Linked DNA regions of Homo sapiens: region 1 is linked to region 2. Evidence: promoter capture Hi-C in human tissues and cell types (Jung and others, 2019). All regions are on one chromosome and are shown on one strand. Each heading gives the region's core, a stretch centred on a gene start or on the middle of the fragment in contact. The rest is flanking DNA. Distances are from core to core; before and after follow the strand shown. Region 1 holds the start of LOC124903331 (a long non-coding RNA gene). Region 2 holds the start of PIGH (phosphatidylinositol glycan anchor biosynthesis class H).

The links. Contacts are between HindIII fragments. The study calls those that stand out against the background at their distance.
Region 1: a contact is called between a fragment that was not itself captured here and the fragment with the promoter of PIGH in region 2, in 1 of the 25 tissues and cell types used here (pancreas).

What each region holds. Positions count from the first base shown.
Region 1 is chr14:67,636,620-67,643,467 of GRCh38, forward strand. ARG2 (arginase 2) reads left to right here. Exons shown (of 8, transcript NM_001172.4): 3 at 5,567-5,744. It overlaps LOC124903331 (a long non-coding RNA gene), which reads right to left and starts at 3,094. Exons shown (of 2, transcript XR_007064218.1): 1 at 1,974-3,094. It also overlaps a transcript of GPHN not described here. The HindIII fragment of the contact is 3,175 bases long and covers 1-2,838 here.
Region 2 is chr14:67,599,018-67,604,976 of GRCh38, forward strand. It overlaps PIGH (phosphatidylinositol glycan anchor biosynthesis class H), which reads right to left and starts at 1,251. Exons shown (of 4, transcript NM_004569.5): 1 at 1,007-1,251. The coding sequence starts at 1,186. It also overlaps a transcript of GPHN not described here. RefSeq lists an enhancer at 929-1,248. The HindIII fragment of the contact is 9,090 bases long and covers 1-3,826 here.

The DNA.
Region 1 (6,848 bases), core at 1-2,500, 38 kb after region 2:
TCTGTTGATGCACTTGTGTTCTTGTTCCACTCTGATAGAGCCTGGAGAGGTTTATCAAGGCCAAAGGTAACATCTGGGCCTGAAAGATCAGAGTAGTACTCGGTGTATTTTATTACCAGCACTCAGGAGAGAAGCAACAAGGCTGTGCCAGTGTATAAACAGCAAGTGAAAAATGAGACCCTTTCACATTGTTCCAAATCTATTTGACATGAGAACTTCCTTGAAATTTCAGGCTCCTCTTGTCCTACAATGTCCTCTTAGAAGAAAGAGCAGCAATGAAACACTAGGTCTCATCTGACCTGGACTTACAGATGAATTGACCTGATGCACAGTTAGAGAAAGGGAAAGTTCCCACAGGCATAACAGCCAGACACATATTCCTTACACATTACAATGTCTGCATTTTTCATCATTACCCTAAGCTTCTTGAAAAATTAGTGAGACCGTTTCTTATGACCTATGAACCAGAAGAACTTGCCACAGCACTCTGATAAAGAAATAGCTTTAAGGCTGGGCATGGTGGCTCACACCTGTAATCCTAGCGCTTTGGGAGGCTGAAGTGGGAGGATCACTTGAGGTCAGGAGTTCGAGACCAGCCTGACCAACATGGCGAAACCTCGTCTCTACTAAAACTACAAAAATTAGCTGGGCATGGTGGTGCATGCCTGTAATCCCAGCTACTTGGGGAGGCTGAGGCAGCAGAGCCCCTTGAACCAGGGAGGTGGAGGTTGCAGTGAGCCGAGATCATGCCATTGCACTCCAGCCTGAGCGACAGAGCAAGACTCTGTCTCAAAAAAAAAAAAAAAAAAAAAAAGAACTTTAATATTACTCAGTTCATCCTGCTGTTACAAAAAGTTAACTTCCCATCAGCCTCCTCACTCCTCTTAAAAAAAAACTGTAGCAGATGGGTTACAATTCATGTTTTCTACAACAACATACTAGAACCAGGGTTCAGATAATCCTAGAACTAGGGTTCTGTTCTACCAGTCCTTTGGGTATTGGTAGTACCCAATACTATTGGCACAGTGGGCATTAGAGGAGAAAGCTCTTAAGAGGTGACATCAGGCTGGCATCATGTATTTGTTGATTCAGTTATGTAATTAACTAGAATAGTTTAACATAAATTTGTAATCCTAGAGCAACTTTCATATTTTGTTCTTAAAGGTTATGGCAGTAGAATAAAAAAGTACTCACGGTGGCATACATTGCTAGCTGTCCACCAAAATCCATTCGCATTCTGTTCTGGACATAAGCTAGACCTGCATTTGCTGGCCAGTGCCAAAAGTGAGCAGGAGTAATGTGCCACTTTCAGGCCAGAGTCTTGAAAAGAGGAGGTGTGCTTTCTCAATGCTTTCTTCCTCTCCCGCTGCCTTGAACCTGGGGAGACCTAGACTTAGCCACACAGATGGCAAAGTCCTAGGCATGAGAGCCACAAGCCAGGTCTCTGAATTACTGCATAAAGGAAAGCCTCCTGCTGACCTGGAATATCTACCCTGGATGCTAAACAAACAAGAAATAAACTTGTTTGAGCCATATTTTGGGCTCAAACATATTTTGCTATGACAGTTAATTTACTCTAATAACCTTACTTAAAATAATATTATGTATTATGCCTATAACTAGCCCAGGCATGGTGGCTCACATCTGTAATCCTAGCACTTTAGAAGGCCATGATGGGAGCATTACTTGAGCCCAGGAGTTGGAGACCAGCCTGGAAAACACAGTGAGACCCTGTCTCTACAAATAATCCAAAAAAAAAAGAAAAAAAATGATTAAAGTCTGAAAGGATACAGTAGTAAAACCCGGGCAGTAGGTTTGGGACCTCTGATATACACGTTATCCAATTTTACAGAGAATTTCAAAACAAAACAGTGCAAGTACAAACTATTTGTCATAGGAGTTCTTCTTTGACGCCCCTGATCCTCAGTGAACTTCCCCTGACTCCTTTAGGACTCATTGTCCCAAGTCCTTACCTGGCACTGAAACTGTGCAAATTATAGAGTTGAGTTCGTTCTTCCTGAATATTCTAGGGGGAAAAAAGAAAAAACAGAGTTGGGAGCAGGAAGGTAGGCCACTCAGGCAGGGCCTCTCAAGGTATAAATCCCTTTAGAGGAGGCTGGCCCTTAGCTTTGTGGATGCAGAAACACAAGGTTGCTGAGTGCATAGCTCATCAGGCTTTCAGACCCAGACTCATGCTAACCATGCTGGATCAACCAAAATGCCCGTGCATAATTATGTTAAGCAGTAGTCCTTCCAGTGTCCACTGTCTAGAAGCTTTTGCCCATATTAAGGCATGTGGGAAACCAACTGAATAGCCAGAATGCTGTTTGGTGAGATGGCATCGGAGTAAATGGAGTTGGACAATGTGGACAGAATCCACTACCCAGGTTGGGAATTAATCTGATGAACCCCCGACAGAAGTTAGTAACCCTTCTAGCACCTGTAATGAGAGCAGAGTGGTGGCCTGAATTAGCGACTGAAATCCTTCTATGAAATTCAGTCTCTCTTCCTGGGAACGTTACTGTAAGATTGCCAAATTCTCTTTAGGTTCCTTTTTAGGCTTTGTGCAGCTTTTTTCTAATACAAGTGAGTACTGTTTTCTGTCACGTTTATCTGAGTCTACATCCTGGTTTGCATGATTGGACTTGGGTAGTCCCAAAGTTCTGTGACTTATCCACTGGATTGAGCACTTTAATTTCCCTGTATTTCTTCTTGGTCCTATGAGGATTGAATGAAAGTGCTTGGCAAATAGTTCTGAAACGTTAGTTAATATTATTTAACTCCAGTTTGGGGCCTTTTATATGACTATTCCTTAGAGTGCAATTACCAAAATATAAATTTATAAAGATTATAAATCTTTTATAATTGTACACCTAATATTATAAAACACCAGGCATACCCTGGTGTCTTACATCTAGTAAGAACCTAATGGTTGATGTGATTTAAGGAGAGTGCTGAGATAAACATGGAGGTGAAAGTAGAAACATCCAGGAATTGTCCATTCAAGATCTGTACAGTACACTGGGTGCAGTGGCTCATGCCTGTAATCCCAGCACTTTGGGAGGCCGAGGCAGGTGGATCACTTGCGGTCAGGAGTTCGAGACCAGCCTAGCCAACATGGCGAAACCCTGTCTCTACTAAAAATACAAAAACAAATTCACCAGACGTGGTGGCGCACACCTGTAATCCCAGCTACTTGGGAGGCTGAGGTAGGAGAATTGCTTGAATCCAGGAAGTGGAGGTTGCAGTGAGCCGAGATTGTGCCACTGCACTCCAGCCTGCATGATAGCGCAAGACCCTGTCTCAAAAAAAAAAAAAAAAAAAAAAAAAGTCTGTGCAGTCCAGGATTGTGTTGTCAACAGACAGAGGAAAGACTTGATATTGACTTGAAGGTTAATTAAAGCTTTCATTCTCTTAAGTCTAAAGTATCCTCTCCATATTTTGAGATTTGGTGAAGTCCATAATGACTTTACTCAAACCTTTTTGTCTTTTTTTAAAAAAATAAAAGATTTTTATAGATGTTTTATTTGGTTCACATTTTTATCTTGGTTCACAATGTCTTTGGCCTGTTGTCATATTTTTCTCCTCCTACCCCTGCTCTGCTACCTTTTTATCTGGTTGTCTGGATCTTCTCCAGGTTGGGGCCTTTTATATGACTATTTCTTAAAGTGTAATGACCAAAAGATAAATACAGAATTCTTGCTGTAGGTGTATCTCACCTTTAAGAATAGGTCTGGGTGACACAAGGGCTGGGGAGGAAAAAAAGAATAGGACAAAGTTTTCTGTCTTGTTTCCAATATCTCTTGCGGTGGCAATTCCTTGGTTGGCCTCATGGCTTTTTGTTATGGTCACTGCTCCTCAAATTTTTATATTTCTTCAGAATTTTGGCTTTGGATTGAGTTTGGGTTCAAGAGGTAGAGCTCAAAATTATAATTTAAATTCATGATGAGTCCATGCTGCTCTTAATCCGAACCTTTAACACAAATCTCTGCAAATATTAAGATACGCCACGTCTTATCTTGTTACTGCCCCTTTCCCACCAATACCAGGACCCTAAGAATATAATCTATGTCAATGTTCTGTTCTCTGATAGTTCAGATCCCTTTTTGATACAGTCAGATTATTTAGTCCTCATCCTAAATGTAGCATCCAACTTAGGTGGGGAAATATTCAAAGCTGTGAGAATATAGCACTAGTTCTTAAAGTGTTGGACTCATGAGGAATTCCTTAGGAGACAAACTGCATAGTAAAGGATAGAGGTTGAGCGTCCCTAATCCAGAAATCCAAAATCGGAAATGTTCCAAAATCTGAAACTTTTTGAGCACCAATATGACATTACAAGTTACCCTGAACACACTGTATTAATGGTATGTCATATTTTCTGCTTTTAAGTACTTATGTGTGAAAAAGTAAGAAAATAACTGCCTATCAGTAGCATATAAATTCAGAGTCAGGAAGATGGTGATGCCAAACAATCATATTGTCCACATGGGTGGCTGTGATAGTGACACCTTTGTTTTCTGATGGTTTAATGCACACAAACTTTGTTTCATGCACAAGATGATTTAAAATATTATATAAAATTACCTTCAGGCTATGTGTATAAAGTGTGTATGAAACACAAGTTTTGTGTTTAGACTTGAGTTCCATCCCTAAGATATCTCAATATATATATAATGCAAATATTCCAAAATCTGAAAAAAATAAAAAATCTAAAACACTTCTGGTCCCAAGCCTTTGGATAATGGGTACTCAACCTGTACAAACTTTGGAGCCAGATGGCCTAGATTTGGATCCTGATTCTGGCACTTAATAGCTGTGTAACTTGGGCGGTTACTTCTCTTTGCTTCAGTTTCCTCATCCACCAAATAGGCACATTTTAGTTGCCTCACACAACTGTTTTGAGTCTTAAATAAGAATTTATGTTAAGCAGCTAGAACAATGCCTGGGATCTTGTAAATAATCAATAAATATTAGATATTTCTTTTAGGATGTTTCAGATTGGCTATTTATAAAAGTTTATAATATGTGAATTTCTTGGCCAGGCAGGTGGCTCATGCCCATAATCCCAGCACTTTGGGAGGATGAGGCGGGAGGATCAGTTGAGGTCAGAAGTTTGAGACCAGCTGGGGCAACATAGCAAGACCCCATTTCTACAAAAAGAAAGTTTAAAAAAATGAGACTCTCTTTGTGTATTTTTTTGCTAAATTAATAGTACTTAATTTCCTTTAAAATTGTTGGTTCTTAATTTTCTTTAAGATTGTTGGTTCTTTTTGATATTTTATTTCTACTCTATCACTCCAGGATATCTGAGGTCTAATGGTTAACCATTTTTTTATTGTTGGGTTAAGTCAATCGATATCTCTTAGTTTCAGTTTCCAACATCTGCAAAACTGTTCATAATAGGATCGAGATAATCTTCCCACAATCATTTGACATTTTAAATTTTACTGTGACAAAATGATTATGATGTGTACTTTGTCACGTATTATCATTGTGGCCCAGGCTAGTTAAGAGTTGGAGATAGCACAGAAAATTCATCTTGTCATCCCTCATTTGCTTCCAGGCTGCCACCTAAAAGACTTTGGAGATTTGAGTTTTACTCCAGTCCCCAAAGATGATCTCTACAACAACCTGATAGTGAATCCACGCTCAGTGGGTCTTGCCAACCAGGAACTGGCTGAGGTGGTTAGCAGAGCTGTGTCAGATGGCTACAGCTGTGTCACACTGGGAGGAGACCACAGGTAAGCTGGGAGCCAGGCGTGGTGAGGGGATGGATTACATGGTGCTTGGGGCTCATAACTTAGCTTCTTTATCTGTTTCTTCATCTGGAGAAAAATACCCTACAGAATTTTTAGGGTAGATATTAAAATGAACAGCAAGCATTTAAATGTCTAAGATCCTGAGCTGCTCAAGGGGCACTGTGGTTTTCTTTGTATGACACATTGCACAGTAAGAATATGTACATTCAGACACAGCAAGTTCAGAGGTATACTAGGCAAGGTTCCTAGGCACTGTGTTAACATGCTTGTCTCCTGGAAAGCTTTCTTGAGACTTATCTTATGACTTTGGAGAATTAGAAAGATCCATTGATAGGCTGAATGTGCAAGTTTTTGTTAGCATTTCTGCTAATAGACCTGTTAGAAATCCCCTTTGGCATGTTACTACATTTTCTTTTTTTTTTTTTTTTTTTTTTTTTTTGAGATAGGGTCTGGCTCTGTTGCCCAGGCTGGAGTACAGTGGCATGATCTCAGCTCACTGCAACCTCTGCCTCCTAGGCTCAAGCCATCTTCCTACCTCAGCCTCCCAAGTAGCTGGGACTACAGGTGCATGCCACCATGCCTGGCTCATTTTTGTATTTCTTGTAGAGACAGGGTTTGGCCATGTTGCCCAGACTGGTCTCGAACTCCTGAGCTCAAGCGATCCTTCTGCCAAGGCCTCCCAAAGTGCTGGGATTACAGGCATGAGCCACTGTGCCCAGCTGTGGATACATTTTCTGCCTCCACAATATGGACCCTAGTGACTCATGCAATCAGTCCTTTGATCCTGTCTCCTCCTGAATCAGCATGTACTTTATTGAGCACTGTTCTGATATTTTCTCAGCAGTGCTAGAGATTGCAGGAAATTTGTGATATATTAAGGCCTAGATGAAATAAATATACATGGAATAAACAAAAATATTGAATTCTACAGAATTTCAAAGGAGGAAGAGATCAGTCTGGACTAAAATAGATTTCACAAGGGAATGTGATTTGAAATAAGCAATGAAGGTCTTCAGTAGGAAGAAGGCACTGAAGTACTAGGAGTATTGAGCACTCCATACATATTCTCAGTTAATTCTGCTAACA
Region 2 (5,959 bases), core at 1-2,500:
CATACGGTTTAGATAGTTAGATAGTTTCCTGCAATTAGGGCAGTCTTAATTCTGCATATTTCTATGCTAAATTACCATGCTCTGAAACACGCTTTGACAGCAAAAAAGCGAATGGATGCAGTAATGGAAACAATATCCAAGTTACAAAAATAAATAGCCCTGCTGTACTTAGCTCTGATTAGATCACTTCTGGGATAATACATTCAATTCAGGCACTACATATGAAACTAGAACTTATCCTGAAAATTAGGATAATTCTTTTTATTTGAGAGCTGTCACAAAGTTACTGCATTTAACCCTCACAATATCATGAAGCTGGTATGGCAGGCATGAATTCTATTTTAGAGATGTAGAAAATTGAGGCTCAGAGAAAACAGGAATGAATCTGGAAATTGAGCACAGCTATCACACACGTCCAAAATTTCATAAACCTTTAGAAAGTACTTGAAATTGGGGAAGGGTTTGGGAGGAGGGAGGGTTAAAAAACTCCCTTGAAAAACAGAGATTAGGAAGAACTATAACACTCTATCTATACACACAGATAAACACACACACTTGTGGAGGCAAAGACAGTTTGTGGAAGTCTACGTAAAGTATTGTTAGCAGTACTACTTTGAGGAGCAGAAGGGATGGACGAGGAAGACCCACTTAGTAGTTCCTTGAACTCTTGGAATTAAATTACTGCGCGCCTATACTACATAGAACACATGGCAGTTAAAGTTTTAGGCCGTCGCGCAAGAACTAGATGTATGCTGAGTGAACCCACGGAGCAGAGCACAGCCACGGAAGGGGAATGTACTATCCAGGAGCACACATTTCACTAAACGTCATTTAAAGAGCTGTCCAGCAGCGGAATATCGTCCCCAGAACCCGTGAGTTCCCGCCCTCCTGTCCTATCACTGTAGGAGGGGCCGACCAGAGGTCCGGGCTCGACCAAAGACCCCAAAGACCCTCCCAAAGCCGAACCCCCTCCTTCGAGCGCGGGGAGGGGCCGACTTGCCATTACCTCGCAGAGGGTGAAGAGTCCGTAGGCCGCCAGCCACACCGTGCAGGTGACAGCGGTGAGCGAACGCAGCGAGAGCCGAGGGCAGCTGAGGCAGAATTCCCGGCAGGACGGGGAGTAGTAGCGGCGCTGCAGCGCCAGGCGGCCGCCGCAGATATCCGAAAAGCTCCGCTCATCCTCCATGACGCCCCCACTCGGCCGCCCGCACCGCGCGGCGCTGCACTGCGCTCGCCGGCCCTGGCCGTCTCGCCCGCTCCAGACCCGCTTCCGGCAGCCGCGTCACCACGCCCCGCCCTAAGCCTGCGCAGCCTCAGTTGCGCGCCGAGAGCTCTGCTGGGGGCTGATGGTTGTGCGTTCTTCCGGGCCGGCCTTGACTGTCTTCGAAAAAACCTCGTCGGGGCAATAGTTAAGTGGAAAGATTAAAATCGTTTTTAGACCGGGCGCGTTGACTCAGGCCTGTAGTCCAGCACTGGGAGGCCAAGGCGGGAGGATCGCTTGAGCCTGGGAGGTCGAGGTTGCAGTGAGCGGAGATCATGCCCCTGCTCTCTAGCCTGTGCGAGAGAGCAAGACCCTGTCTCAAAACAAACCCACAGTTTGTTTTTGTTTTGAGACGGAATGGCGCGACGTCGGCTCACTGCAACCTGCTTCCCCCGGGTTCAAGCGATTCTCCTGCCTAAGCCTCCTGAGTAGCTGGGATTACAGGCGCGCGCCACCACGCCCTGCTGATTTTTGTATTTTTAGTAGAGACAGGTTTCACCATGTTGGCCAGGTTGGTCTCAAACTCCTGACCTCAGGTGATTCGCCCGCCTCGGCCTCCCGAAGTGCTGGGATTACAGGCGTGAGCCACCGCACCCAGCCCAAACCCACAGTTTTAATCATGCTTTTGCTTGGCAAGCCGATTTCTCTAAGCCAGAGTGAGCCGCAAGGAGAGCCCACGGGTATTCATTTCACTTACTCTTTTCCTGTGCCGGGTAGTTTGAGGTGCTTGAGGATGCAGCAGTGAACGATGTTGATGACAGTCTCTGCCCTCGGGCAGCTTCCTTTCTAGTAGGAGACAATATGGAAATAAGAGAGTATCGTTGGCAATACTATGCTGACTGGCAGGGATGGACTGAGGACTTTACATAGGGCAGTCAGGCGAAGTCTCTAAGTAAGAGGACACTGAGTTACAAGGGTGACGAGCCAGACAGGACTGAAGGAGCTCTGGAGGAGGAATTTGCCAGAAAGAAAGACCAGGAAAGGCAAACCCCTCGAAGTTGGAACAAGCTTGGCTTAATGAAATAATCAAAAGGCGAGAAAGGTTGGTGTGTGGGGAAAACAGTTGGAAGCTGGGGAGGCAGGTAGGGGTCAGATCCAAGAGGGTCTTGTAGGGTCTGGTAAGGAGTTTGGATTTCACTGCCTGGGAGTTCTGTCTCCCAAATGACTGCTTGGACCGTGGTAGACAGGCAAGACCTGGCTGGGAATTAAGCAGGAGCGGGAGATGCAGAAGAAATGGATAATAAAATTACTAAACTCATGAGTAATAGTGGCCTATGAGTTCCATTTTTACTTCTGATGTGGCCCAGGAGTGGCTATGTGGACTGTCAAAACACTTGTGATGGGCTGGGCATGGTGGCACATGCCTGTAATCTCAGCACTTTGGGAGGCTGAGGAGGGCAGATCACTTGGGTCAGGAGTTCAAGATCAGCCTGGCCAACATGGTGAAACCATCTCTACTAAAAATACAAAAAAATTACCTGGGCATGGTGGAGCATGCCTGTAATCCCAGCTGTTCGGGTGGCTGAGGCAGGAGAATCACTTGAACTTAGGAGTTCAAGACCAGCCTGGGCAACAGAGCAAGACTGTGTCTATATTCATTTAAAAAAAAAAAAAGATCCATGGCATAAAGGTCTCACCAGCTTTAAGTCTCTCTGATGAAAGGTTCCGTTTCTTCATCTTCATTCAGAATTTTATTTCCCTTTCTTTTTTCCTAAAGGATTTCTTCAAGCACTTCTTTATTTTTCTAGTTTTATTTCTGTGCCCCGAATCTGACAATTAATACACTCCTTTTATTAGTCCGTTTTCACACTGCTATAAAGAACTACCTGAGACTCGGTAATTTATAAAGAAAAGAGGTTTATTGACTCACAGTTCCACATGGCTGGCAAGGCCTCAGGAAACTTACAATAATGGTGGAAGGCAAAGGGGAAGCCAGGCATGTCTTACATGGCAGCAGGAGGGGAGTGGGGAAGTGCCACATTTTTAAACCGTCAGATCTCGTGAGAGAACTCACTCAGCATCACGAGACCAGCATGGGGGAAATCCGTCCCCATGATCCAATCACCTCCCACTGGGTCCCTCCCCTAACAAGTGGAGATTACAATTTGACATGAGATTTGGGTAGGCACAGAGAGCCGAACCATATCACCCCTTTTACTATTGCATATATCATGTGTTTTATAATTATAAAAGTGATATTTGCTTATTGTGGAAAATTTGAAAAATACAGAAAAGAAAAAAATGTAAACCACCCATATTTCCATCACTCAGAGATAAGTACTGTTAATGTTTTGGGGAAGCCTGTAGTCCTGGAGTTCTTAACTTGGGCTCCACGGATAGAATCAGTGTTTCATTTTTAGTTTCATTAACTTCTAATTAAAATTTAACATTTCTTTTGATTATGAATATGGGCAACAAACTAGTATTAGTAGAGCTTGTGATTTTTGTCACTGACAGAAATCACAGATATTTTCTTTTCACAATAATTGTTTCAAAATGTCATTTCTAGTCATTGCTACTTCAAAATTGCAGTAATTATTAAACCCATCACTAGCTATTATTATTTAATGTGTCAATAAAGAGAAACATATCACTGTAACACATTTTTAAAATATTTTGATAACCATATTTTAATTTAGTTGATTTTCTTAGAAGTCCTATGTATTTATACATTTTAAAGCATTATTATAATAAAGGGTCCATTCATTTCGCCAAACTTCCAGAGGGTCTACAATACAAAAGGTACCTGTACAGGCTAAGAAGTTTCTTTTCTTTTTCTTTCTTTCTGGTTTGTTTTGTTTTGTTTGAGGCAAGGTCTTGCTCTGTCACCGAAAGCGGAGTGCAGCAGTGGTACGGTCATGGCTCACTGCAGTCTCAACTTCCTGGGCTAAAGAGATCCTCCCACCTCAGCCCCTCAAGTATCTAGGGCTACAGGCACACTCTACCACATCAGGCTAATTTTTGCATATTTTGTAGAAATGGCATCTCACTATGTTTCCCAGGCTATTTTCAAACTCCTAGGCTCGGGTGATCCTTCGGCCTCAGCCTCCCAAAGAGTTGGGATTACAGGCATGAGTCACCATGCCCAGCAGGCTAAGAAGTTTCACAATTATAGAGTTATAGAAAGAAAAAGGCCAAATGTACTTTACTTAATTTTTTAAAAATACTCAATTATTAGGAATAAATACTGTGGTAGTCTAAGATCTCTAAAATCCTTTTTCTTTTTAGAGAGAGGGTGTTGCTCTGTTACTCAGGCTGCAGTGCAGTGGTATAATCATAACTCATTGTGACCTTGAATGCCTGGGTTGAAGCGTTCCTGTTGCCTTGGCCTCCTAAAGTGCTGGGATTGCAGGCATGAGCCACTGCACCCAGTCACTAAAATCCTTATTACTGCTTTGTGGGTTGTTTGTTTGTTTGAGACGGAGTTTTGCTCTTGTTACCCAGGCTGGAGTGCAATGGCACAATCTTGGCTCACCACAACCTCCGCATTCCAGGTTCAAGCGATTCTCCTGCTGAGGTCAGCCTCCCAAGTAGCTGGGATTACAGGCATGCGCCACCATGCCCAGCTAATTTTGTATTTTTAGTAGAGATGGGGTTTCTCCATGTTGGTCAGGCTGGTCTCAAACTCCTGACCTCAGGTGATCTGCCCGCCTCAACCTCTCAAAGTGCTGGGATTATAGGCGTGAGCCACCGCTCCCAGCCCTGCCCTTGTTTTTTGTTTTTGTTTTTTTTTTGAGACAGTCTTGCTCTGTCGCCTAGGCAAGAGTGCAGTAGCACAATCTCTACTCACTGCAACTTCCACCTCCTGGGTTCAAGCGATTCTTGTGCCTCAGCCTCCCAAGTAGCTGGGATTACAGGCGCAAAGGTTTTAGCTTTCTTACTGGGATGGATAGGCAAAGAATGTCTGTTCCATCTTTCAGAAATGGAAGTCTCCTCATCTGTCCATTTAAGGAAATGTTTTAATTGAGGTATATCCTCCAAGCAGTAAAACAGTCTGTGACTTACTTTTCCATACTCTAATGGTGTCTTTTGATGAACAGAGGTTTTAATTTTCATAAAGTCCAATTTATCAATCTTGTCTTTTATGGCTAGTGTTGTATAATATTTTGTCCTGTTTAGGAAGCTTTGCCTGTCTTGCGGGCATGGTGGCTCATGCCTATAATCCCAGCACTTTGAGAGGCTGAGCCAGGAAGATCGTTTGAGCTCAGGAGTTCCAGAACATGCTGGGCAACATAGCGAGACTCTGACTCTACCAAACAAAAAACAAAAAACAAAAAGCTGGGCATGGTGGCACAGCTACTAGGTACTAGGGAGGCTGAGGCAGAAGGGTTGCTTGAGCCCAGTAAGCCCAGCTTACTGTAGGAGGCTACAAAAAGCTGTGATCAAGCCACTGCATTCCAGCCTGGGTAACAGAGCGAGAAAAAACAAACAAAACAACAACAACAAAAAAAACTTTGCCTATCTTTTTTTTCCCTAGAAGCTTAATTATTTTACCTTTCATATTTAAGCCAATGATCCATTTTGAACTAATTTTTGTTTGTAGAGGTTAAGGGTCATTTTGTTTCCCAGCAGCACGTGTTGAAAAGACTACCCTTCCCCCCTAATTGAGATAGTGCCTTTGTTGTAAATAGGTGACCACAAATTTCTCGGTCTATTTCCACACTCTCTATTATGTTCTGTTGTTCTATTTTGTCTTCC